4 separate regions of the Homo sapiens genome follow, and regions 1, 2 and 3 are each linked to region 4. Evidence: promoter capture Hi-C in 16 types of primary human blood cells and fetal thymus (Javierre and others, 2016). All regions are on one chromosome and are shown on one strand. The core of a region is centred on a gene start or on the middle of the fragment in contact, and the rest is flanking DNA. Distances in the headings are between cores, read along the strand shown.

The links. Contacts are between HindIII fragments. The CHiCAGO score rates a contact against its expected background, and 5 or more counts as called.
Region 1: a contact is called between a fragment that was not itself captured here and the fragment with the promoter of NFKB1 in region 4, in 2 of 17 cell types (fetal thymus and total B cells). The highest score is 6.2, in fetal thymus.
Region 2: a fragment that was not itself captured here is called in contact with the fragment with the promoter of NFKB1 in region 4 in 2 of 17 cell types (neutrophils and activated CD4 T cells); the score reaches 8.1 in neutrophils.
Region 3: a fragment that was not itself captured here is called in contact with the fragment with the promoter of NFKB1 in region 4 in 1 of 17 cell types (naive B cells); the score reaches 5.2 in naive B cells.

Annotation. Positions count from the first base shown.
Region 1 is chr4:100,088,541-100,095,287 of GRCh38, forward strand. No RefSeq gene overlaps it. Among named protein-coding and RNA genes, the nearest start is that of DDIT4L-AS1, 98 kb to the right of the region's middle. The HindIII fragment of the contact is 1,043 bases long and covers 4,150-5,192 here.
Region 2 is chr4:99,841,414-99,847,579 of GRCh38, forward strand. All of the region lies in intron 3 of DAPP1 (dual adaptor of phosphotyrosine and 3-phosphoinositides 1), which reads left to right. Among named protein-coding and RNA genes, the nearest start is that of DAPP1, 28 kb to the left of the region's middle. The HindIII fragment of the contact is 3,832 bases long and covers 752-4,583 here.
Region 3 is chr4:99,810,303-99,816,601 of GRCh38, forward strand. No RefSeq gene overlaps it. Among named protein-coding and RNA genes, the nearest start is that of DAPP1, 3.4 kb to the right of the region's middle. The HindIII fragment of the contact is 2,861 bases long and covers 3,308-6,168 here.
Region 4 is chr4:102,497,418-102,503,917 of GRCh38, forward strand. It overlaps NFKB1 (nuclear factor kappa B subunit 1), which reads left to right and starts at 3,942. Exons shown (of 24, transcript NM_003998.4): 1 at 3,942-4,371. It overlaps NFKB1-AS1 (NFKB1 antisense RNA 1), which reads right to left and starts at 5,069. Exons shown (of 5, transcript NR_136202.1): 1 at 5,022-5,069. RefSeq lists silencers at 3,622-3,881, 3,892-4,461 and an enhancer at 4,572-4,621. The HindIII fragment of the contact is 5,238 bases long and covers 3,001-6,500 here.

The sequences.
Region 1 (6,747 bases), core at 3,421-5,920, 2.4 Mb before region 4:
CTCCAGCTGTGTGTGGCTCCCGCACAGGTTTTAGTGGCACTCCTTAGGGTTCCAAGGAGTATAGTTTGAAAAACAATTTTGGGGATTTTAAAGGCACAAAGTAATGGTTGCAAAATGGCACTTTTTTTTCTGGCTTTACCCTGACCTCTTGAAAAAGTCCAATGCCCCTAAGATTCTTCTCAAAATTTTCTGGATATTTCTGGATGGAGTCAGCTAAAATGTCACCTACTCTTGCCTAATCATCCTGTCTGGAGTTGCATCCCTCAATTATGTTTTAAATATTGGTAAGTGTTTCTATTTAAAATTTTTAAATTTCAATAGCCTTTGGGGTATAGGTGGTTTTTGGTTATGTGGATGAATTGTGTAGTGCTGAAGTCTGAGATTTTAGTGCACCTGTCACCTGAGTAATGTATATTGTACCCAATATGTAGTTTTTTTATTCCTCACCCTCCTCCCACCCTTCCCGTTCTGAGTCTCCAGAGTTCCTTATTCCACTCTGTATACCTTCGTGTGCCCATAGTTTAGCTCTCACTTATAAGTGAGAACATACAGTTTTTGGTTTTCTATTCCTGAGTTACTTCACTTAGAATAGTGGCTTCCAGTTCCATCCAAGTTGCTGCAAAAGACATTGTTTTGTTCTTTTTTAATGGCTGAATAGTATTCCATGGTGTATTTATACCACATATTCTTTATCCTCTCATAAGTTGATGGGCACTTAGGTTGGTTTTGTACCTTTGCAATCATGAATTGTGCTGCAATAAACATGCCTGCAAGTGTTTTTTGTTTGTTTGTTTGTTTTGTTTTGTTTTGTTTTTGATACAGAGTCTCGCTCTGTCGCCCAGGCTGGAGTGCAGTGACCTGATCTCGGCTCACTGCAAGCTCCGCCTCCCAGGTTCACGCCATTCTCCTGCCTCAGCCTCCCGAGTAGCTGGGACTACAGGCGCCCGCCACTAAGCCCGGCTAATTTATTTTTGTATTTTTAGTAGAGATGGGGTTTCACCGTGTTAGCCAGAATGGTCTCGATCTCCTGACCTCGTGATCCGCCCATCTTGGCTTCCCAAAGTGCTGGGATTACAGGCGTGAGCCACTGCACCTGGCAAAGGGTTTTTTTGATATAATGATTTCTTTTCTTTTGAGTAGATACCCAGTAGTGGGATTTCTTGATTAAATGGTAGATCTACTTTTAGTTCTTTAAGAAATCTCCATTCTGTTTTCTATAGAGGTTGTACTAATTTACATTCCTACCAGCAGTGTAAACGTGCTCCCTTTTCACCACATCACCACATTCACACCAGCATCTATTGTTTTTTGACTTTTTAATAGTGGCCATTCTGGCAGGGGTAAGGTGGTATTTCATTGTGGTTTTAATTTGTGTTTCCCTGATGATTCGTGATATTGGACAGTTTTTCATGTTTGTTGGCCATCTATATGTCTTCTTTTAAGAAATATCTATTCATGTCATTTGCCTACTTTTTGATGGGATTATTAGTTTTACTGTTGCTGATTTGTTTGAGTTTCTTGTAGATTCTGGATATTAATCCTTTGTCTGATGCAAAGTTTGCAAATATTTTCTCCCATTCTGTGAGCTGTCTGTTTATTCTGATGATTATGTGTTTTGCTGTGCAGAAGATTTTTAGTTTAATTAGGTCCCTTTTATTTTTGTTGTTGTTGCATTTGCTTTTGGGGTCTTAGTCGTAAGATCTTTGCCTATGTCAGTATCCAGAAGAAAGTTTTTCCTAGGTTTTCTTCTAGAATTTTTATGGTTTCAGGTCTTAGATTTAAGTCTTTGATCTATCTTGAGTTGATTTTTTATACGGTGAGAGAGAGGGATCCAGTTTCATTCATTCTTCTACATGTGGCTATTCAGTTTTCCCAGCACCATTTATTACATAGGGTGTCCTTTCTTCAATTTATGTTTTTGTATGCTTTGTCAAAGATCGGTTGGTTGCAAGTATTTGTCTTTCTTTCTGGGTTCACTATTCTGTTCCATTGTTCTGTGTATCTACTTTTATACCAATACATGCTGTTTGGTAACTATAGCTTTGTAGTATAGCTTGAAGTCAGGTAATGTGATGACTTCAAATTTGTTCTTTTTGTTTAGAATTGCTTTGGACATTAGGACTCTTTTTTGGTTGTATATGAATTTTAGAATTTTTTTTTTAATTCTGTGAGAGATGATGCTGATATTTTGATAGAAACTGCATTGAATCTGTATATTGCTTTGGGCAGTATGGTCATTTTCATGATAGTGGTTCTTCCATTCTGTGAACATGTGTTTCCATTTATTTGTATCGTTCATGATTTCCTTCAGCAGTGTTTTGTAGTTCTCCTTGTATTAGGAGGTCTTTCACCTCCTTGGTTAAGTATATTCCTAGTTTTTTTTTGCAGCTATTGTAAAAGAGATTGAGTTCTTAATTTTATTTTCACCTTGGTCTTTGCTGGGGTATAGCAGTGCAACTGATTTCTGTACATTGATTTTGTAACCTGAGACTTTGCTGAATTCATTTATCAAATTTAGGTGTCTTTTGGAGGATTTTGTACAGTTTTCTAGGTATATGATCTTTACCACAGGGCCATGTTTGACATGTTTATTTGCAGGACTTTTCACTCTCAAAAAAATTTTTGTTTGTTTGTCTATTTGCCAGTGTATAATCTCTTTTCTCTTTGTAAAATAAGCTCCATGAGTGCAGGGGCCTTTGTTTGGTTTACTGCTGTATCACTGGTGTCTGGCATAGTGTTTGGCATGGAGAATGTGTTCAGTCAATTTTTTTGAAAATGTATTAATTTTCTAGGGCTGCCTTAAAACTTATGATAAACTGGGTGATGGAAAAAAAATGGAAATTTATTCTCTTATGGTTCTGGAGGCCAGAAGTCAAGCTGAGGTGTTGGCAGGCCAATGTCCCCTCCACAGACTATTAGAGAAAAATCCTTCCCTGCCTCTTCCAGCTTCTGGTGGTTCCAGGCATTCCTTGGTTTGTGGCTGTGTAATTCCATTACTTGCCTCAGTCTCTATATGACTTTCATATCTGTCTCTCTATATCTCACCCCTGTACCTTTCTTTTTTTTTTTCTCTTGTTGCCCAGGCTGGAGGGCAGTGGCGTGATCTTGGCTCACCGCAACCTCCACCTCCCAGATTCAAGCGATTCTCCTGCCTCAGCCTCCCGAGTAGCTGGGATTACAGGCATGCGCCACTACGCCAGGCTAATTTTGTATTTTTAGTAGAGGTGGGGTTTCTCCATGTTGGTCAGTCTGATCCCTGTGTCTTTTATACGGATACTTGTCATTGAGTTTAGGGCTTACCTGGATAATCCAGAATGATCTCATCTCGAGACCTTTAATTTAATGACATCAGCAAAATCCCTTTTTCCAAATAAGATCATGTTCATGGGTTCCAGGGGATTGGACATAGACATATCTTTCTGGGGTGTAACCATTGAATCCACTACAAAAAGCATGCTCAAAGGACTCATGAATGACAAGCTAGTCCTTGAAAACCTGTGCTGTCTGCCATTTTCCTTTTCTGTTCTGGCTGCCTGGGGTGATGTTTCCTGTCGCAGCTAATGCCGCAAGTGATAGCTCTACCTCCAGTGACCACTAAGGCAGGACAGTCAGCAAGAAAGCCAGAGATATTGTTATAGAAGAATTTTAGACAAATTCGTTTAACAGACTTTATTTGATCAAAGAACAACTCGTGAATTGAGCAATACTCAGAACCGGAAGAGGTTTTAAGAGCTCCACCCAGCAGTGTAAGCAGTAAGCTTTTATAGGATGAACACAGAAGAAAAATAGAAAAAAAATCATCTGATTGGCTTCGGCTAGGCATTTGCCTTTTTGGGCCACGGCGTGTTGAGGCATCTGCCTTATTTGAGCATGATCTGATCAGTTGGCTCCCTGTGATTGGCTTGATGGTCAGCTGTTTGTGATTGGTTGAAACTTGGCTACTCGCAAGAAGAAAATATACTCCTAAGTTAGGTTTTGGCTTGTTTATGTACTAGATTAGGTTGTGGTTTGTTATGTAGGACCTCAAAATATGAGACAGTCCCAGGCCAATGGTCTCCTGCTTATTTAATTTAACAACACAAGATTGCAAATTTCTGAAGGTGGGTCCTTAATAGCTATGCCTAGTGTGCTGTCTCTAGGCTACGCTGAAGCTTCTGGTACCTCATCTGTTAGTGGATGTTAAGTGTGGTGTTGCACTCTCTTCTTTAATTGCCGAAAGAGGAGTTAGCTTTGGGCCTCATCATTGCGAGGAAAGAACTGAGGCTTGGAGGGCTGAATTGAAGATTAATCTGAATGACTAACACTATGTTGTTTCCAAAATCACCCCCTGTTCCACTTTGAAACAAACTTGTGTTTTCTCAGTTTCTCCCCGAAAGGAAAAGTTTCTCACCAGGAGTGTCGTGGTGCTTTGTGTATATAAATCCTTGCTGGGTCCATATCTATTCTCCACACATGCCTGGAGTCGAGGCTGAATCATTTATTATTTATTCCCCAGCATGATATAGCTTTATTGCTTATGTTCACTGGGGTTTGGGAAATAAAGACTCAGGAAGCAGAAACACACCAGCTACAAGAGTCTGACATTTGTTTATGAGCAGGACAGCCTTGACTTATTATTCTACTTCTTCTCTTGCGTCTCCGGGAACAGATCTAAGAAGTGGGACCTTGTATGCAGTCACTGAGACAGCTGTTCCCATGAAAATCAGGGCTCATGGAGGACATGCAAATGCTTCTCTGTCAGTCTTCAGCCTGCTTGCTCTGCCTTCTGCTTTCCTGGTGAGGATTAAAAGAGGATTTCAGAGCTCTCCTTCAATTTGATGCCATCATTTTGATGTCTATGCCACCCGTAACTCCAATTTCTAAACTTGAGAGCTGTACAGGCCTGTTACAAAGTGGTTACCTTTTAACCACTAACTTCCGAGAAAAAACTTGGATCACTGAGGAGAGAACGAAGACAAATACAATTGAAGCCCCAGGTAGTTTTCCTGAGGCCTCATGATTTCTTTTGGCAGAGAAACCTATGATAGCTGGTGGCCACTAGGGGTCCCCAGAAGGCTTTTTTAATGAACAAGAGGCACCCGCGCTCCTCACCCCTCCCTTTCCTTCCCACAAATGCCAGGGGTAAAAACAACTTTAAGCTCTGACGTCAGCCAGCCAGGGGAGCCACCCTGTTGTGCCCATAGGTATAGCTAAGCTTCTGAGAACTGGGGCCTGGTGCTTTCCCTGGCAGCCCAATTTTCAGCTTAAATCATTGCCTTAATGTTATTTTAATGTGCTTGGGGTCCCTGGGGGACAGAGTGGGTGGCAGGGGAACAGCATTTAATTTCCTTTGGAGTTTGGAATGTGCCTGACACTTCTTAAGTACTTGAGTGAATATGAGAGTCTGTAATCCTTGCAAGAGCAAGCAACTTTGGGGGCCTTCTTATTTGGCAAGCTTCAAGACAAAGTTAAATTTTTGCTAGGAGAGAGGGAAAAAAGGAAATAAACATGTATTAAAAGTCTGATATATGCCATGGGCTTTACATTTATTATATTATTAAATCTCAAAAATAACCTCATCCAGTTGGAATTATTGTTCTAAATGCTAATATTAGGAAGGAGACATTCAGATTAAACAATTTGCCTACTGTTTACAGCTGATAAATGACCCAGGTAAGACCACAGCACTGGTCAATTAGGATCCGCAATCCAGGCTATGCTCTCAGTATCCTTCAGCCTTCTGGTTTTACTGTGAGGGCTCTCACAAAGGAATCTACTCATTGTTTTACCTGAAGCTTTTAAAGTACATAACCAAATCCAAACCTATAAAGGTGAAATAGCACTTTTCTAGATAATAAAATTAAAGCCTGAATGTAATCAAGCAAATGCTTATTAGGGATATTTTGTCCACCAGGTGCTATGTCTAATGCAGGTTCTGTTGAGGGCCTCATGTGCTTAATTCAGAGTAAAAACAAACAAACAAACAAAAAACACTAATGTTAGGGCAAATGTATTATTTTGACCAGAATGACATAGATTGGCTGTGTCCACATCAACTAAATAAAGTGAGCAATTATCTGATGAATTGCTGCTGAAGAGAAACACTTGATTCTTTACCACATTACCAAAAGGGTAGATTGACAAATAAAGAAGAATGTATCAGGCTTGAAGGTTGGCCAAAAATTGCCAGTCAATACTCTGGAAGTTTAGCAACAGGGAAATATCATAAGGGTTTATTTGAATCAGCCCTGTCACAGTGCCCAACCCAGTGCCTGGTGTAGTGTAGGCTCTCCGTGAAGGCAGAATCAACGTTGAATGATGTTTTTAAAAATGTTTATAGGCCCACTGTGAACATCCCAGTCTCCCTTCAGCTGAAGTCACTTTATGTTGACTCAAAACAATCTGCCCTCCAAACGAAAGTGTAAAATAAGAAACCAAGGCTTAGACGCTTCAAACACCAAAGCACCCTCTTCTTATATTCCTCCTAATTGTTAGTAGAGTAAGGTGTTTGGCTATTATTAGTCTCCCAGTGCTTACGTATTTGCTGGAAATATGCCTCATCCTCATGTATTACACCTTCTGCATAATCTAGTTTTATCATGTAGAAATTCCAAGGATTTATGAAGGTGAAATGACTCTGAAGTCCCTTGGATGAGGCTTATTAAGTGGCCCATTTCTTCTGAAATTCAGGGAGCTGAACTACAGCAAGGATGGATTGCCAAAATACATATTATGTAATTTTAAGTCACTTGCGCATGACTAAAACCT
Region 2 (6,166 bases), core at 1,418-3,917, 2.7 Mb before region 4:
CACACCAAGCCCAAGAAAGAATAACCCAAACTACGAAATGAAGTTATAACCTTTTTTTCCTTCTTTCTCCTGGTATAAATTCTCCCAATCAACCCTGAAAATTACTTCACCATTTAACAAGCAGTTGTTCCCATGAACAAATGGCCAGTGGAGGTGTATTTATTTCCACTGCTACCTTGGCCTTGGCAAGCATTTCAGTTTCTCAAATCCCTACACTTCAGTCTCCTTTCCTGCTTGCATCCAATTCCACACTTGATTTTGTTCAGTTATTGGTCACTGGCCATGTAGAGGAGATTTTTAAAGCCAGGGTTTTGTTTTGTGTACCTCTAATTTTTGTATTTCATATCCGCCAGGTCCTGGCCCACTGCAGGGCATTTTGGGTGAATAAATAAATGAATACATGGATAACTATGAGTAAGAACTCTTTGTAGTCTTCAAAGCCACTAGAGTTGTCATTTTTCTACTTTCTCTTTTTCTTCCAACCAAAGACAGCTCCCTTCTTTTAAATTCTTCTCCTAGACTCTATTTTCAACTTCTTTGATCATTCCCTGTGCTCCTTCCTGGGCCTTCTCCAAGTTAGGGAAAAGATACATATTCTGCCTACTGGCAGATTTCAAAACATTTAAGATCAAAGTGAAGGCAGTGCTTTCTGGTTGAACCTTTCTGGCACTGATCCAATCATCAGGCAAGAGGATCACCTAAGGATGCGCCAAAATAAAGATGTTTTGATATTGCATTTGGGACAATGATAAGCTTCCTTGTAAATACACTGTTCTGAGTAAAGAAGCCTTATGATTGATGCATTAGGGATTGTAAGGATTTGTCATCCAGACTTCTACAGTAGTTTCTCTAAAACTCAAACCTGCTGTATTATTATCTTGACTACAATTGCCATTTTATTTATTACAATATAACTCAGGAACCTAATATTTTTATCCTCTCCACTGCCTCTCCTCTGTTCTATTCATTATCCAATGAAGAATTTGCTGCTGTTTGAATTCCTGCTTTCGGCCCCTCGTGCTGATGGATATGCACTTGACTTGCTGGCTTCCAGCCCTTGAGTTAGAGTCCACCAGCTTTATTCCTCTTATCTGTCCCAGCCAGATGAAGGGAAAGCCATCAGGGCTAGGAACAACAGGCAAAACCCATGACAGATGAGTGTTCAAATCTTGCCCCTCTGGGAGTAATAGGCCTTGGGAAACAAGATAATGTGCTCAAGTCATGATGACTTGTAAGCCCAGAAATTCCTCAAGGTTACGGAGTCAGCATTGCAGACTATAAAGAATGGTGAATGGAAACTGACATGCCACCTTCTAAAAATAGGCCTTTTCTTCTTGTTCATTTAAGCATGGGCTCCTAGTATTGGCTCCCAGTGATCAGAAGATCTTCAGGCTAACGATTTCATGTTCACCTTCAGATGAAGTACAGATATTTCTTTCTTTTTTTTTTTTTTTTTGAGACGGAGTCTCGCTCTGTCGCCCAGGCTGGAGTGCAGTGGCGCGATCTCGGCCCACTGCAAGCTCCGCCTCCCGGGTTCACGCCAGAAGTACAGATATTTCTTATAGCTTATGTTTGATTAACATCACCAGGAAAAGCATTTGTCCACACAATGGACAAGCCCCTCCCAGGGCTCTCAACTTCAGATTACCAGAATGACAAGGACTAGAATTGGATATTTCAGGCCACTGCTCTCAGCCAGACCCCACCCAGGCCCAGCCTCACCCTGCAGGGTCTAGAGGGTAAGTTTATTAAAGAGTGACTTTCTTATAATACATTTATCTACTGGCACAAGTGGTATTACCTTTGAGGGCAACAGAAATGATATCCAAATAGCCAAAACTTTACACTTTTGCCTTGCAGTTATATATAATGCCTTCAGTAGAGTGAAACCCAGAATATTTGATTTTGGGTCGTAAGAACATTTTTGCACTCAAAATAGATAAAAGTGTTGACCTAAGGGGATTAATGCTATTTTAAGATATCTTTTTTTTCTATTCCCTACTCTTTACACTTTTAGGATTTCTGTTTGCTAATCTGAAAAGCAAGGATTTCCTAAGCAACATCTAAGCCTCTTGACAACTTTAAGAGTATTTTATGATAATTTCCCTTTCCCTTGCCATAATCTCTATTTCATCTCTCTAATCTCCATTAAAGTTTCTGTTCACTCTAATTTCTTTTTATCAATACCCATAAACACTCTTAAGATACTTCCAATTCTCAAAACCTAATAATTTCCCAAGTACATGATAGAGATATACAATGTACTCTCTTGCTTTATTTTTCTCAATGGCCCTTTTACCTTCTGACATCTATAATTCACTTATGTTTTTTAAAAAAATACCTTTTTTTCCACACTAGTGTGTGAACTCCATGAAGAAAGGGACTTTTGTCAGCTTTGCTTCCTGCTATGTCCCAGGACCTGAAAAAATAAGTACTGATCATTTCCACAATATGTCATGCTGGATGCCCCATTTCCAATGCCTGCATTGCAGTTTTTTGCATGGCAACATCAAAACTAGCAAACTTGTGACAATTTTAACTTTCAAAGTTTATAAAAACATAATTTGAAATGATATTTTGTGTTGCATGTATGCTCAGTGATGATTAAATTCAGAATTTGCCTTTCATTTGTGATAGTGTTGCAGGACTTTTCCTTAGTTCAGCTAAAGATCGGGTCCCTCTCCATCCCACGGCCACAAAAATTTAGGCTCGCAGACGGTTTGAAGGGTGAGTGAAGCAGGGTTTTATTGGATGAAAAGAAAGAAAAGAGGGAAACAGGGAAGCTAGAGCGCTTCCTGCCCAGCAGTTTGAATTCTATGTTCCTCACAGGAAGAGGAGGGGCCAGGCTCCTCCCCACTGCAAAGGACACGAACTTCCTAAGGCTTCACCTCAGTGGGCAGGCCGGTTGGAGTTTTTCTGTCTCAATAGTAGGATATCAAATAAAACATATTCATGTCTGTGCATGAACTCTAAACTAAACTCAAATAGACTTGAAAATTTGAGAAACTTTTTTATTAGTATAAATATGTTTGGTCCATTATTAATTTTGTCGTAGCCTCTTGTAATTAGCTAAGTTTCATATATATAGTCTTGAAAATGTAGACGGCATTTATCTTTATGCTTAAATGTCTAAATATGATTAGAACAAAAAATTACTTTTACCATTACCTTTTGTTTATGTTTCAATAATTCTTAACATGAAATTGCCATGTATAATTTATTACATTGTATTGTGACTGTAATCACCTAACAGGCATGAAAAAATATAATACAAGTCAAGTTCTATGTTTGTGCTTACCCTTTATAATAATTGGTTCCCAATTTTAAAGATCTCATCTGGTTTTTTGGTAAATGTCAAATCTCCATTTCTCTTTTTGTTTTGATATGGGGATTCCCAATCTTTTGACGACAGCTACCGCTATTATTATTTTGTTTTGTGACACCACCCAGGTGATATTTTTAAATAATGTGGTTAAAATTAATTTTAATTTGAGAATTGGGTGGTTCTTCAGAAAACAACTAGTGACAACTTAGAATTTTTCCAAACTTCCTTGGATGTTTGCCAAAAATACAAAATGTTCTCAGTTTATAGATGAGTTTTATTCGAAAAAGGAAAAAGCAGCTGAGGAAGGGAATTAAGCCAACATTTTTAGAGTGTTTGCTAGGTTCCAGGCATTCACCTACATCAACTTATTTCATCTCAGCCACCCACAATAATGCATACAACGGTCCTATTTTCAGATGAGGAAAGGAAAACTCAGAGGTTTTAAGTCACTTGCCCAAGTTTTCACTGCTGGTAAACATCAGGGCTGAGATTGGAATCTGGGCTAATCTGGTTCTAAAGCATAGATGCTTTCCATGCACCTTGCTATCTTTTGAAACTGGTCCCACAATAACAGTACATTGTTGCCATGGTACAGTGTGGCCTTAAATGGATTTGGAAGAACTCAGAGCTGAGATTGGAATCTGGGCTAACCTGGTCCTGAAGCATAGATGCTTTCCAGGCACCTTGCTATCTCTTGAAATTGGTCCTACAGCGACACTGCAATACATTGCTGCCATGGCACAGCATGGCCTTTAATAAATTTGGAAGAATTTCTGCTACAATAATGTAGTAGAATGATTGTAGGATATGGCAGGGCTGTAACACATGTCTTAGTCCTATCCCTCAGTCTCTTCTTTATCTCTTCTTTAAAGTCTACAATAACATGTTTGGTACATGAAGTAAACCTATTGTTCTAAAGAGTGTGAATCAACTTTAACTTCTGCCTTTGTATTTATTGTTATTCCCATTTTATTTACATGAATTGCTATTTCAGAAATTATACCAGAGGAAACTTTAAAACATAAAAAGGCTGAAAAGAAAACATCCCCCTAAATATACAGGCTCATCTTAGTCATGTGTCTTCAGCAAGGATATCAAACAGCCTGTCTAAGTATAACAAAGTAAAATAAAATTTACAGCTTGAGAGAGAAACTGAAAGAAAGGGAAAATGAGAGGTAAGATCAAATGACAGCAGGAACAAAGTATTTCAAATGAATATTGTACATTTACAGGAAGCAGTACAAGCATTTGGTAATGAAGCTTCTCGATGTTTTTTTCCCCTTATTTGGGCCTGTATGCTTAGTTAGATTTACAGGATGTTAGAATTGAAAGGGAGCTCAGGGACTATTGCATTTTTCCTTTATAAATGAAGAAACTGAGGCCTGGTTAGAAATGGGGAAGCAAAAACTCACATCTCCTTTCTCAAGCTGCCTCCTAAAGAATCAATTTCTTCAAACTTTGATTTATACATGTCAACTCTTGCCCACAATACAGCACAGTATTTCACATGCCCTAGAAGTTTCCATGGTGACTAGATTGAGGCTGAGAATAATTATGGTATAATGAGTAAACACACAAATTCTAAGTTTCAACTCCAGCCTCTGCCATTTGCCGGCTCTGTGTGTCTCCTCAGGTAAGTTAAATAATCTCTCTGAGCTTCAGTTTCATCATCTTATGAAACTGATTAGATGGTAGTAGCTCATACTTTAATGACTTATTGTGAAGATTGAATGAAATTAGGCACATAGGACATTTGGAATGATTCTTAGCATAGTATAAGTATTCAATAATTATTATTCATATTTAATAAAATGCTTTTATGGTTATTAATTCCATCAGATTCTATGCAAAAGCTGTACGTTCTTTGATAAATAATAAAGAATTAGTTTAGGGACAATTGAATTTGCATTTATCAAATGTTTGTGATGTCCTCTTCAAACTTTAATCTAGTTCCATAGTGGACTCATATAAGTGGTAGAATCAAGTGAGCACTCCAAAAATAGTGACTTGACTTGGATATTTGAACAGAATTTTCTCCTACACTGACTAACTGGTATGTCTCTCCTAGTTCAGTGCACTTCACCCTATGAGACTGGAAATTAAATATTAAAACCCCTTCACATGTAAATGAACAAGGCTTAAAGTCCATTTGCAGAGCAGGTGGCAAAGAAGGAAGGAAAAAGATCTTGAATAACCCTATTCTCTCCCACCAACCCCAAGAAATCTACTTCTCATTGGAAGGAGGGGAGAGAGGAACTCATTATGCCAGTTGCAGAGCTTATTTTCTGAACCTGAGGGCAGTAATGAAACACGGATGGACATGATCTGATTTTAATTTAATTCAACAAAATGTTTTGAGTGAAATGGCCCTGTGAGCCACTGATAACATAGAAAGATAAATCAGATATTATTCTTGCCTTCAAACACCTTACAGGCTAGCTGGGGTACCTGATGAATAAGCACTGACCTCACTGCATAAAATAAATACTCTAAACAAAAGTTTTTCTTTAGGAGTTTTGTGTACCCTGTGCTACACTCTATTTCAGATACCAAACCAATGCCTAAGAATTGAGACTGTTCTTACTCTCTTTCTGAGTTCCTGCTGGAATACAAGATAAAGGGTCCTTCAATGCAATTTCATATTATTGCATACAGTTATATATGTAACTCTTACACATAACTGTAAGTTACCATTCAGTCAAAGTAAATGGAAATGCCTGCCTTGGTCCAGCTCTGATCATCTCAAAAACATACCTCCGCTAAGCATGGCTGAAACCAGGTTTCATGTCAAAGGCAGGAAACAATAGTCACCTTTACGTAGTTCAGAAACTGAAGTGAAAC
Region 3 (6,299 bases), core at 3,488-5,987, 2.7 Mb before region 4:
CCAGCCTGGGTGACAGAGCCAGACACTCTCTAAAAAAAAAAAAAAAAAAAAAAAAAAGAAAGAAAGGGAATAAAGAAACAATGATAATGATAAAACCAATGAGAAGTCATTCTGCTCTTTATTATCACCAGAAACCAGCAATTCTAACCAATGTCAATGACAGAATATACCTCTCAGCAGAGGCAAACCATTCCTCACTCCCTACCAAAAACTGAACATTTGTGTCCCACAAAATTCCTATGTAAAAGCCTAATCCCCAATGTGATGGTATTTGGAGGTGGAGCCTTTGGGAGGTGATTAAGTCATAAGGTCATAATTCTCATTAATGGGATTCATGTCTTATAAAAGAGGTCCCAGGGAACTTCCCAGCCCCTCCCACCATGTGAAGACACAGCAAGAAGACAGCCAGCATCTATGAACCATGAATCAGGCATTATCAGACCCCACATCTGCTGGTGCCTTGATCTTGGACTTCCTAGACTCCAGAAATGTGAGAAATAAATTTCTGTTTTGTGTAAGCTACCCAGTCTGTGGGATGGGGTGGGGAGAGTGACCCAGGACCCCTAGTGATGAAGGTGGGGAGAGTGACCCAGGACCCCTAGAAATGGGGTAAGGGAAGAGTAACCCAGGACCCCTAGGGATGGGGTGGGGAGAGTGACCCAGGACCCTAGGGATGGGGTGGGGAGAGTGACTCAGTACCCCTAGAAATGGGATGAGGTGACAGTGACCCAGGACCCCTAGGGATGGGGTGGGGAGAGTGACCCGGGACCCTTAGGGATGGGGTGGGGAGAGTGACCCACGTTATTCACAGTCATATGAATAAGAAATTCACTTCTGTGTTGAAGTGTTAAATTTTGGGTCTTTCTGAAGTAGCAATTTAGCATACCCTGATGAACACAGGAGAGAATGAGGCAGAGTGAAAAGAACCTTGAGTGAAAATGTTATGTGCTAGTTATTCATCAATTGGCTTCAGCTCCACTTCTGACCTCCTCTCCTCGCCTGGTATCATAGGGGACTGGAAGCCCACAAACTACATTTCACTAATTCCCTTGCCAGCTGTCTTCCAGAAAGAATTTGCTAACAGGAAGACTGGAGAAGGGTAGAAATCTGGGGTTTTTTTGTTTTTGTTTTTGTTTTTTTCTTCCTTAGGCAGTGCTTTCAGCACCATGAGCAGCCTTCAGCAATGGTGGGCAGCTGCATGCTCCAAAAGCCTCAGTCCCAGTTTTCAGCTGCATCAACAGAGTTGTGTCCTTCTGGTCCCACAGACCAGCAGTGGCAGCTAAATGTCTACAGTGGCTTCTCTTTTCTTAACTGGATAGTGACTGATGCACATAAATTCTCTTCCTGGTGCTGCTAATTTCTGACAATTTTCTTAACATTTCTGAGCTCCAATTTTCTTATCTATTAAAAAATAACAAGAATAGCAATACCTGCTCTGTGTCAATAACATAATGTTCATGATATACAAATGAAAATGATTATGAACACTCATAATCTAAAGAAATGTATTTTTATGGATCCTGGTTAAGTTTGCTGTTATTGGTCATGTCTTTCTCTTTCTAGACCTCCAGGAGCCTATTGAATGTTTCTAAATTGTGATCCAGTCAAATATGTTAGTTATTTTTTCATTTGAAAAGATGAATATAGCCTGCACCAACAGGGGGAGCTGTTCTTTTATAACCACTGAGAGTGGCTGTATTTCTTCTTTGAGGGCAAAGCTTTAATTGTTTCAACACCAGCTACTGGGAAATGTCACCAGTGAACCAATTAGCCTGGCTTCCTGAACCATGTAGAACTGATTATCCAAGTCAGGCCGGCAATGGGCTTGGGCACAGGGTATATGGTAGACACAAATGAAGAGTGACCTCAATGTCCCATTAATGTTACTTGACTTGTGCTCACTTGACCTCAGGTTGCTTGTAAAAAAGGTAGGGTCTTAGCCCTTTCTCCCTGAAATCCTCCCCAGTGATTTCTGGGAAGGGCTGGCTTTTTATTTCACTTTAGCTTTCTCGTTAGGTAGGTGACTTTGCATAGTTACCTTCAGTGGATTTACTGTATTATGGTTTTTAGGTTGCTCTTAAAGTGAGAAAAAAATGTGCTTGAGGTAGACCAGGTAGCCCTTTTGATACTTTTAGCCAGGTAATTCTTTATTGTGGGGGCTGTACTGCACACTAGGATATTCAGCATCACTGCACACTAAATGCCAGTAGGCTCCCCAGGTTGTGACAACTAACAATGAAAACCACCTCAAAAATGAGGACCCAATTGAGAACCACCATTTTAGGGGCTATGGATACTATATCAGTGAAGGTTCTCCAGAGAAACAAAACCAATAGTATGTATATATGTGGAGTGTGAGAGTGTGTGTGTGTGAGAGAGAGAGAGGGTGTGTGTGTGTGTGTGTGTGTGTGTGTGTGTGTGTGTGTGTGCGTTGTATAAAATAAGGAATTTCCTCACATAATTATGTAGGCTGGTAAGTCCAAGATCTGCAGGGTGGGCTCACAGGCTGGAGAACTAGTTCAAGTCCAAAGGCTGTCTACTATAGTACCAGGAAGAGTTGATGCTGCAAATGAAGACCAAATGCAGTCTACTGGAAAATTATGTTGCTCGGGGGAGGCTGGTCTTTTGGTTCTGTTCAAATTTTCAACTGGTTGGATGAGGTCCACCCACGTTATAGAGAGCAATCTGCTTTACTCAGAGCCTACCATTTAAATGTTAATTCACTCAAAAACACTCTTATAGAAACACCCCGAATAACATCTGACCAACTATCTGGGCAACCCGTGGTCTGGCCGAGTTGACACGTAAAAGTAACCATCAAAGATATAAGGTGATCAAGACCCTGGAAGTCCCTGCCTCTGGGAGCTCACATTCTAGGCATTGACCCAGATGATAGGCAAGTGTTTCAGTTATCTATCGCTGGCTGTATTAGTCCATTTTCATGCTGCTGATAAAGACATACCCAAGACTGGGCAATTTACAAAAGAAAGAGGTTTATTGGAATTACAGTTCCATATGGCTGGGGAGGCCTCACAATCATGGCAGAAGGCATGGAGGAGCAAGTCATCTTATGTGGATGGCAGCAGGCAAAGAGAGCGCTTGTTCAGGGAAACTCCCATTTTTAAAACCATCAGATCTCATGAGACCTATTCACTATCATGAGAACAGCAGGGGAAAGACCCACCCCATGATTCAGTTATTTCACACTGGGTCCTTCCCACAACATGTGGGAATTATGGGAGCTACAAGATGAGATTTGGGTGGGGACAAGGAGCCAAACCATATCACTGCCTAACAAACCATCCCAAGCTTCATGGCATCAAATAGCAAACATCTTATTAAGTGCATGTATTCTTTAGATCCAAAATTCAAACAGGGCATGGTTTGTCTCTCCTCTTTGATGTCTGGGGCCTCAGCTGGCAATATGCAAACCACTAGGAGAGAGTGATTTGAATGGCTGGAGGCTGGAATCATCTGGGGGCTTCTTCAATCAAGTCTGGCACCTGGACTAGAATGATTCAAGCTGGGATTATCTGGGACTGTTGACTGGAGCACACACATGAAGCATTCCACGTGGCTTGGGCTTCTAGGCATAACAATTATGTTCCTAAGGGGAACCCCTGAAAGTAACATTTGGAGAGTGAGCCTTCCAAGAGACCACAATAGAAACTGCAAGGCTTCTTCTGACCTAGCCTCAGAAGTGATCCAGTGTCACTTCCACCACATTTTATTGGTCACAAGTGAATCACAGAGGCCAGGCCAGATTCAAAGGAGGGGAGTTAGGTGCTGCCTCTTGACAGGGAGCAGCAAGGTCACATTGCAGAAGAGCATGTGGGTTGGGAGATGTATGTGTGTATGTATGTATGTATGTATGTATGTATCTATCTATCTATCTATCTATCTATCTATTTATCTATCATCTATCTACTATCTATCCATCAAGAGAATTTGCCACAAGTAAGCAAATATTCTATATAATTTCAGGTAGAGCTAAAAACAGAAGTGGTATTTAGACTGTTACAGATACAAAGGATCTTCTGGGGTGATAAAAACCATTCTAAAATTGTATTGCAATGATGGTTGCACGACTCTGCAAATTTACTCAAAATTATTGTACACCTAAGGAAAATGAACATTATGATATACAAATTGTACCTCAATATACCTGTTAAATATACAACTAGCATGCCACAGGCACTGAAGGATAAGAACAGACATGATGCTGGCCTTGGTTCCAAAACAAGGTTTTTTGTTTTTTGTTTTTTGTTTTTTTTGAGACGAAGTCTCACTCTGCTGCCCAGGCTGGAATGTAGTGGCATGATCTCAGCTCACTGCAAGCTCTGCCTTCCGGGTTCACGCCATTCTCCTGTCTCAGCTTCCTGAGTGGCTGGGATTACAGGCGTCCACCACCATGCCCGGCTAATTTTTTGAATTTTTAGTAGAGACAGGGTTTCACTGTATTAGCCAGGATGGTCTCGATCTCCTGACCTGGTGATCCACCCGCCTCGGCCTCCCAAAGTGCTGGGGTTATAGGCATGAGCCACCACGCCCGGCCCAGAACAAGATTCTAAATCCCCTTTCAGTTACACAGCAATAGATGTCCCGGGAGGGATGGGCTCCAGCATTTTGTTGAAACTATCTAGCAAGCCTCCTGCAGCTGTTACCACTGCAAAACTAAGTGTGTAGTTAGTGGAGTGGGCGGGGTGGTAGGGATACTGTGAAAAATTGAGTAAATGACAAAGTGGGACAATGACATCAAAGGAGAGGGCAACAGACAGGACAGCAACATGAGGAAGGGCAAAAGGCAGGAAGATTCAGCCAGAAAAGCAGGACGATCTTAGAAAATTCTGCTACTTGTACTTCCAAAAAAGTTAAGAAAAAGAACAACCAGAATTTGCTAAAAATGGGAATGAAATAGATACTAAAACACCAAATAAAGGGCTCTAGAGAGGGAACAGGAACTCTAGTGCCCAGGCTGTTCCCCTGTCACTGCTGTATGCATATTCAGTATCTCCCTGGCCTGCACTGGCCTCTCTGTTCAAGTGGGCCCTGTCCTTCTCTGTGAGCAAACTGTAGCCAAAAGAATTTAAGTGCTCATTTAGTCAGTTATATATGTATTATCAGAGCTTAGTCTTCAGCAGACTGCCTCCAGACACTCAGGAACTTCCCACTGGCAACCAGTGTTACCCGGGTCTCACCGATCCCGGGTGAACAGTGGTAATAGGGAGGAAGATGAAGGATAGAACCATTGCACAGCAGCCTTTTGCAATCATCTAGTCCTTTAGGAACAGTTCTGCTGTGCTGTTTAGTCCTCAGGCCACACTGTGAGAACAAGTTACAGAGCACTGTGGTGAGTGCTGAATGAGTCAGGGAGTAGAGATAGGAAGAGAGAGAGAGAAAGGGAGAGGGAGAGAGAGACCTGTAGGTACATAGAAAAGGCAGGAAGCAACATATGTCCTTGACTCATTTGATACTGCACTTTGTTCCACTTCCCAAGGATTCAGTCACTGCAATTTACCTTTAGCATTCCAGGCAGATAGAATCCTGCTCTACATATGAATCTGGGCACAAAGCCATGCAGGTGTGAGTAAGCCCATGAAGGAAGTGGCACTCAAAGACTCTAGGAGTTCAGGCCAGGTGCAGTGGCTCATGCCTATAAGCCCAGCACTTTGGGAGGCCGAGGTGAGTGTATCACCTGAGGGTGAAACCCTGTCTCTATAAAAACACAAAAATTAGCAGAGCATGATGACGGGTGCCTGTAATACCAGCTACTTGGGAGGCTGAGGCAGAAGAATCACTTGAACCCTGGGAGGTGGAGGTTGCAGTGATCTCAGGTCATGCCATTACACTCCAGACTGAGTGACAGAGCGAGACTGTCTCAAAAAAAAAAAAAAAAAAAGACTCCAGGAGTTCTAATATGCCCCATTAGGTGGGCACCAGAATGGCCCCTTGTAACTTTTTCCTACCTTCTCCTCTCCTAATTCTTTTTCTGTGGAGGAAACAATAATTGTCTCTGAATCATCCCTATTCGGAGCATTGAGGATATATTAGAAGGTCTGGGTAAACAAGCAGAAATATTGCAAAAGTGCTAAAACATCAAACTTCAGGGTCGAATTTGTGGTTTGCTTCTGCTTTTTCTATCCACTCTAAAGGTGTTCCTGATAGAGAAGCTTCCTCAGTGTTCCCTGTGTTGGTGTGTAAGACAGAAAGAAGATGGGGTAAAAGAGTGCACGCATCCTCCACTACAAACCAGAGGCTGATAGCATTAGGGAGAAGCTAGGGTTTGGCCTCACACAAGC
Region 4 (6,500 bases), core at 2,692-5,191:
CTCGAATTCCTGTACTTAGCCCCTTGTCTCCTAACTCTTTGACCACTAATGTTTTAGAAACACTCTCCTGACAACTATCGCATCTTTGCAGTTGTTTCCATTTCCAACGCCATGTCTCTCTGAGCAGCAGCCTTGAGTTTTCAATTGCATATTTATTAGTCATTTCCATATGGACATCTCACTAAATCTGTCATACTAAACATGTCTAAAATATGTATGTTTACATGTTACATGTATGTTTGGTATGTGGGAATGCATTACATTCCCACAGATTTTTTCCCAGTTACAGTGTTACTATTCTAATCACTCAGACTAGAACACTCAGAGCTATCTATGAGTCTTCCTCTCACTCAAACTGCATATATAATCTATAAACAGGTCCTGTTGACCTCATCTTCTAAAAATCTCTTACATGCTCCTTTTTATATCATTGGATAATAGTTTAGTGTGGTGGTTAATATCATGCACACTGGAGCCAAATCTGTTAGGTTCAAATCCTGACTCTCCTTCTATTTACTAATTATGAAACCTTAGGAAAATTATTCAACTTTTCATCTGTAAATATGGGGATTATAATGGTGATCCACTTTATATGACTGACAACCAAATAAGTGAATACGTGTATAGCAGGTATTAACCATATGCTTAGCCGACCTATTTCAACCTCCTAACCAACCAGAAGAACTGTAGTTCCCTGCTCTCTTGCATCTAAGTGGGGCCATGGAATGTGGGCAGAAGTGTTGTGTCACCTTTACTCAGAGGCAATTAAAAAGAAGACATACTTTTCCTATGTTCTCATTGCCAATGAACACACTACACAGATCTCAACCTCAGAATTCTCTCCACACTGGTATTTCCAAAATAGCTTCATGAGAAGGGAAATTTGTGTAGTTTCAATGATTTAGTGATGCTATGGTTTGGGTATTTGTCTCCTCTAAACCTCATGTTGAAATGTGACCCCAATTTTGGAGGTGGGGCCTAATGGGAGATGTTTCGGTCATGGAGGTGGATCCCTCACAAATAGATTGATGCTATTCCCTGCAAGGAGGAGAGGATGAGTGAGTTCTCACTGCATTAGTTCCTATGAGAGCTGGTTGCTAAAAAGTTTGGCATCTCTCCCCTCTCTCTCGCCATACGATCTCTCTGCACACACCACCCGCCTTTGCCTTCCATTGAGTGGAAGCAGCCTGAGGCCCTCACCAGACGCATATGCTGGTGCCATGCTTCTTGTACAGTCTGAAGACTGTGAGCCTAATAAACCTCTTTTCATTATAAGCTACCTAGTCTTGTGTATTCTGCCATAGCAACACAAATGAACTAAGACAAGTGACAAACACAAAATAACTTGTCTTTTAGACAATATTGATGTCTGAAATTCCACATTGAGGCATTTTTTTCCTCTTCGTAGCCTGATAATGGCAAATACCTTCTGACACCTTAGGATGGATGAATTTGTAAGAGATATTCCTGGAAGCAGGTTTGTACAGTGTAGAGAAAATGTTGGGTAACAAAGCAGGAATGGAGGAGGGTTAATCAGCAAGCCAAAAAGCTTTTATAGTTTTGCCTGCTGTGCTGCATGGAATTACATCCCCCCAAAACATATGTTCAAGTCCTAACCACAGGTACCTGTGAACATGAGTTTATTTGGAACTAGGATCTTTGCAAATGTTATCAAGTTAAGATGAGGTAATACTGGATTGGGGTGGGCTCTAAATCCAATGACTGGTGTCTTCATAAAAGAAAGGTGAGGGAGAGTTGAATATAGCGACACAAAGGAAACACGGGGAAGGAGACCATGTGACAATGTAGGCACAGAATGGAGTGTTGCAGCCAAGCCAAGAATGGCAAGGATTGCTGGAGCTACCAGAAGCTAGGAGGAGGCAAAGGATTCTTCCCTAGAGCCTTCAGAGGGATCATGGCCTTAATGGCACCTTGAGTTCAGAATTTTAGGCTCCAGGACTGTGACAGAATAAATTCCCGTTGTAAGCTGTTCAGTCGGTGGTAAATTTTTACAGCAGCCCCAGGAAAATATGCCTGCTCAACACCCTACCCTGAATTTTAAGTTCATTTTATGGAATCATTTTGAGTTTGGAGTTTGATTTAATCCTTTTCAGTAATTAACGCTCTTCATTTTTTACTCCCAAATATGTCACACTGGCTCTACTCTTATAACAATTGTATTTATCTATCTTTTGGTAATGGGGCTGCCACCCCTTGCAGAATGAAAAGTAGAGTGTGTATGCTCACACCTCCCTCCCTCCCTCCCTCTCTCCCTCCCTCTCTCTTTCTTTCTTTCTCAGAGTATCGCTCTGTCTCGCCCAGGCTGGAGTGCAGTGGCGCAATCTTGGCTCACTGCAACCTCTGCCTCCAGGGTTCAAGCGATTCTCCTGCCTCAGCCTCTGGAGTAGCTGGGATTACAGGCGCCCGCCACCACGCCCGGCTAATTTTTTTGTATTGTTAGTAGAGATGGGGTTTCACCATATTGGTCAGGCTGGTCTCAAACTCCTGACCTCAGGGGATCCACCCGCCTTGGCCTCCCAAAGTGCTGGGATTACAGGTGTGAGCCACCGCACCCGGCTCACAGAATTTCTTAAAAAGTCATTGTGTTCAGTCTTTATGGATCCTCTAAATTCCAGCTGCTCAGCCTCCCGGAGCTAAATGAGATCACTTAAAGGTCGACTGTTGGGGCCTCCAAGGTCGCCTCGGAGACTCACCTCATAGGCAATCAAATGGATCGCTGGGTTTTTGTGTGTGTGGGTTTTTTTTGTTTATTTTTTTTTTCCAGAAAAACACTCCACCAAGAAGGTTTTTATAACCTACTGGAGGAGGAGGATGGAGAGTGGGCACGAAAGGACTAGGATGAACATGCCATAAGCAATCTAAATGCCACTGCAATATTGCCTGGTGAGGACCTGATTACTGATGTTTTAAAGCTAAGCTTTCAGTTGTCACTCCACCCAGTAGTGAAACAATGAGCTCTAAAATATATATTTCGGCTCAAGCTTTCTTATGTGGGGAGGTAATCCACCCGAAGGTATCCCCAGCCTGTACCTAATACAGTGCCCAGCACTAAAGCAGCTCAGATGCCAGTGAATGGTGGCCACTGGGAGGCCTGTCAGTGGGTGCCAGTAGCGGTCTCTTCAGAGAAAAAGAAAACTCCCCTCTGCCAGATCAGTATTTTATGAGCTGTGAACCAAAACCATTGCTACCACCATCACTATAATTCTATCCACAGTAATTATCATAAAGGCCTAACAATGCCTTGTAGATGAACATTCTGAGTAACTGCTCTATAACCAGGAGATTTAAGACCGCACCAAAAACCAGTAGAGGGTTATACTTTACTGGGCACAAGTCGTTTATGATAACGAAATTGTAGTTTAATCTGTGAAGAGATGTGAATGTAACTGAGACACGCTTAAATGGAATATACAGATGAGCTTTATTTTTATATCTGGCATGCTTGGATCCATGCCGACCCTCCAGCTGCTCGGGCCTGCCCTTAGGGGCTATGGACCGCATGACTCTATCAGCGGCACTGCCACCGCCGCCGCCTCCGTGCTGCCTGCGTTCCCCGACCATTGATTGGGCCCGGCAGGCGCTTCCTGGGGGCTTCCCTACCGGCTCCAGCCCTTGGGATTCGGGAGCGCCCTGCTAGGAAGCCAGAGCCCCGCAGGGGCCGCGGCGTCCAGGCCGCCTAACGCGCGCCCCTCGCCCGGCGCCCCGAAGCGGCCCCGAGGGGCGGGAGCCGAGGCGAGCGGCAAGGCCGGGCCGGGGGCGCACAGCGCCCCTAGAAGTGCGGGCTTCCCCCACCCCCGGCAGCGACCCTACCTCCCGCCCCCGCTGCGTGCGCGCGTGTGTCCGTCTGTCTGTATGCTCTCTCGACGTCAGTGGGAATTTCCAGCCAGGAAGTGAGAGAGTGAGCGAGACAGAAAGAGAGAGAAGTGCACCAGCGAGCCGGGGCAGGAAGAGGAGGTTTCGCCACCGGAGCGGCCCGGCGACGCGCTGACAGCTTCCCCTGCCCTTCCCGTCGGTCGGGCCGCCAGCCGCCGCAGCCCTCGGCCTGCACGCAGCCACCGGCCCCGCTCCCGGAGCCCAGCGCCGCCGAGGCCGCAGCCGCCCGGCCAGTAAGGCGGCGCCGCCGCCCGGCCACCGCGCGCCCTGCGCTTCCCTCCGCCCGCGCTGCGGCCATGGCGCGGCGCTGACTGGCCTGGCCCGGCCCCGCCGCGCTCCCGCTCGCCCCGACCCGCACTCGGGCCCGCCCGGGCTCCGGCCTGCCGCCGCCTCTTCCTTCTCCAGCCGGCAGGCCCGCGCCGCTTAGGAGGGAGAGCCCACCCGCGCCAGGAGGCCGAACGCGGACTCGCCACCCGGGTAAGCCAAACTCGGGCGAGTGGGGGCCCGGCAGGGGACGCGTGGCCCAAGTCCTGCCGCCCAGCCCTCCGCACCCCCTCCAGCCCCACTCGGACTTCCTCATTCCTGCGCTAACCGCTGGGCTAGACCGTGGGAGGAGGTTGACAGTAGCTGAGAGGCACATGGGATTAGCGACAGCGGGGAAAGACACATCCGGACCTCGCAGGGGCTAGTCGGCCGAAGGGCCGCGGCCGCCCGGCGGTCATTTCTCTTCACGTCCCTCCGCGGGGCGGGAACGCGAACCGGAGGGGAACTCTTACAAACTTTTAAAATCCCCAACCCCAGCCCCACCTGGGGGATGGTGAGAAGGTTGGAGTGCGCTGCGGCGCGGAGGAGAGAGGGAAGGTGGTTGGTGCAGTGCAGAACCAGATTTCACCTAAGGGCGTTCCATGAAATGAAAGCAGAAGTGCTTGTCAGTCCTCTTGGCTGGGAAAGCCCTCCCCAGCTCCCCAGAATTGAATAGGAGAGTCTATTCATCCCTCTCCTACTTCTAAAAGAAACCTGGCTCGCTCTCTGTCTCTCTCTCTCTCCCCCCTCCCCCCCTCCGTGCGCGCGCGCGCGCGCACACACACACACACACACACACACACACACACACACGATATAGTCACCTGCTATAGGACTTGATTCTGATCCTCCGGGGCCTGGCATTTGAGAGAGAAAATAAATTACCTACCTGGATACTTAGAGCACTTTTTAGACTTGATTATGTAAAACTCTTGGACAGTGCCACCATGCATTATGCATGACCGCTGAAACAAAAATAATGTAAAAACAAGGCCTATCCTAAATGCAAGTTTTTCTATGGTCCTTAAAAACAGACACCAGGGAATGTTTGCCCTGACTTGCTGGTTTATCCTGAAACTCAAATGGGACTTAATGATACAGGATTTAATTATCAAGATTGACATGTTCATGGACTTTGTTAAGTAGAGGTTTTCAGCATTACAGTTTATGAAATAACCATATTTAACTCAAAGATTTTTTTATAAAGCTCATAATCTGAAAAAATGCTTATGGTATTACTAAAACATTTAATAGCTCTGGCATCAAAATATTCTACATACTGGTGATCTTTTAGTAAATAGTAAAGGTTAGGGTCAAGATATTCAATAATTTTTTTCTAGCAGAATCCCACAACTGAATATTGTCAAGCAGTTTAAACTGCATTCGTGTTTGTTAAAACTTTAAAAGGGAAACTTAAAACTAAAGTATGTTGTTTTTCTGATTTTAATATTGTGCTTTCTAGAGATGAATCCTTTTACTGTTTGAGGCACTATAGGAATTATGTATTTAAATGTATGTATTTAAATTTGAAGCAATGTACTTTTTTGAGTTTATAAACTTGGGAAGACAGGAAATAAAAAGATTTGTTTCCTGTAGAATTTTACATTCATGATTTAATTGAATTGCTAAAATGGAAAGAACATGTACGATTAATGGAGACTTGGAATCTGAGATTATTCATCCATATTGATACACCTGCAATTCCTAAATGCCCTCCCCTGCTTGTTTAGATAAAATGTCTTCCTGGGCTGCAGCCTACTGGACAAACTTGAACACAAAGGAACACACGTTATATGTACATTTAATACTGGAACCGAAAAGCTGCTTGCAGTGAAAAGCAAACCACTTCTAAACTCTTTGAGACTTTTTAAAGAAGGTAGTATAATCCTTTTAGGGGTTGGTGGTGATGTGAAAATCTATTATCTTTTTGCTGAAATTTCATTCTTATGTTAGGCATTGGCACTCACTTGTGCTGAGTAAATGCCCGTGTTTTTCAAACCCAGATAGTAAATACTGGGGGTATACATACAAAAATAGTCCTTCCCCTTTGTAAGCATTGCTTTGATCTTTGCACTTCCTTTTTACTCTACCTCTTAAACAAGATCTGTGTTGATTGAGTTGATTAAAGCACAATTAATCTGAAATAGGCAGAATTTTAGATTTAGTGATTATATTCCTTACATTTCTGTTGTTACTGTTCCTGGAAACAAATTGAAGTAGTTTGAGAAACTAATATTTATGCAGGTTGTTTTAACTACACTTTTAGACTTGCAGATAATTGATTAAGTAAGTTACTACCTTGA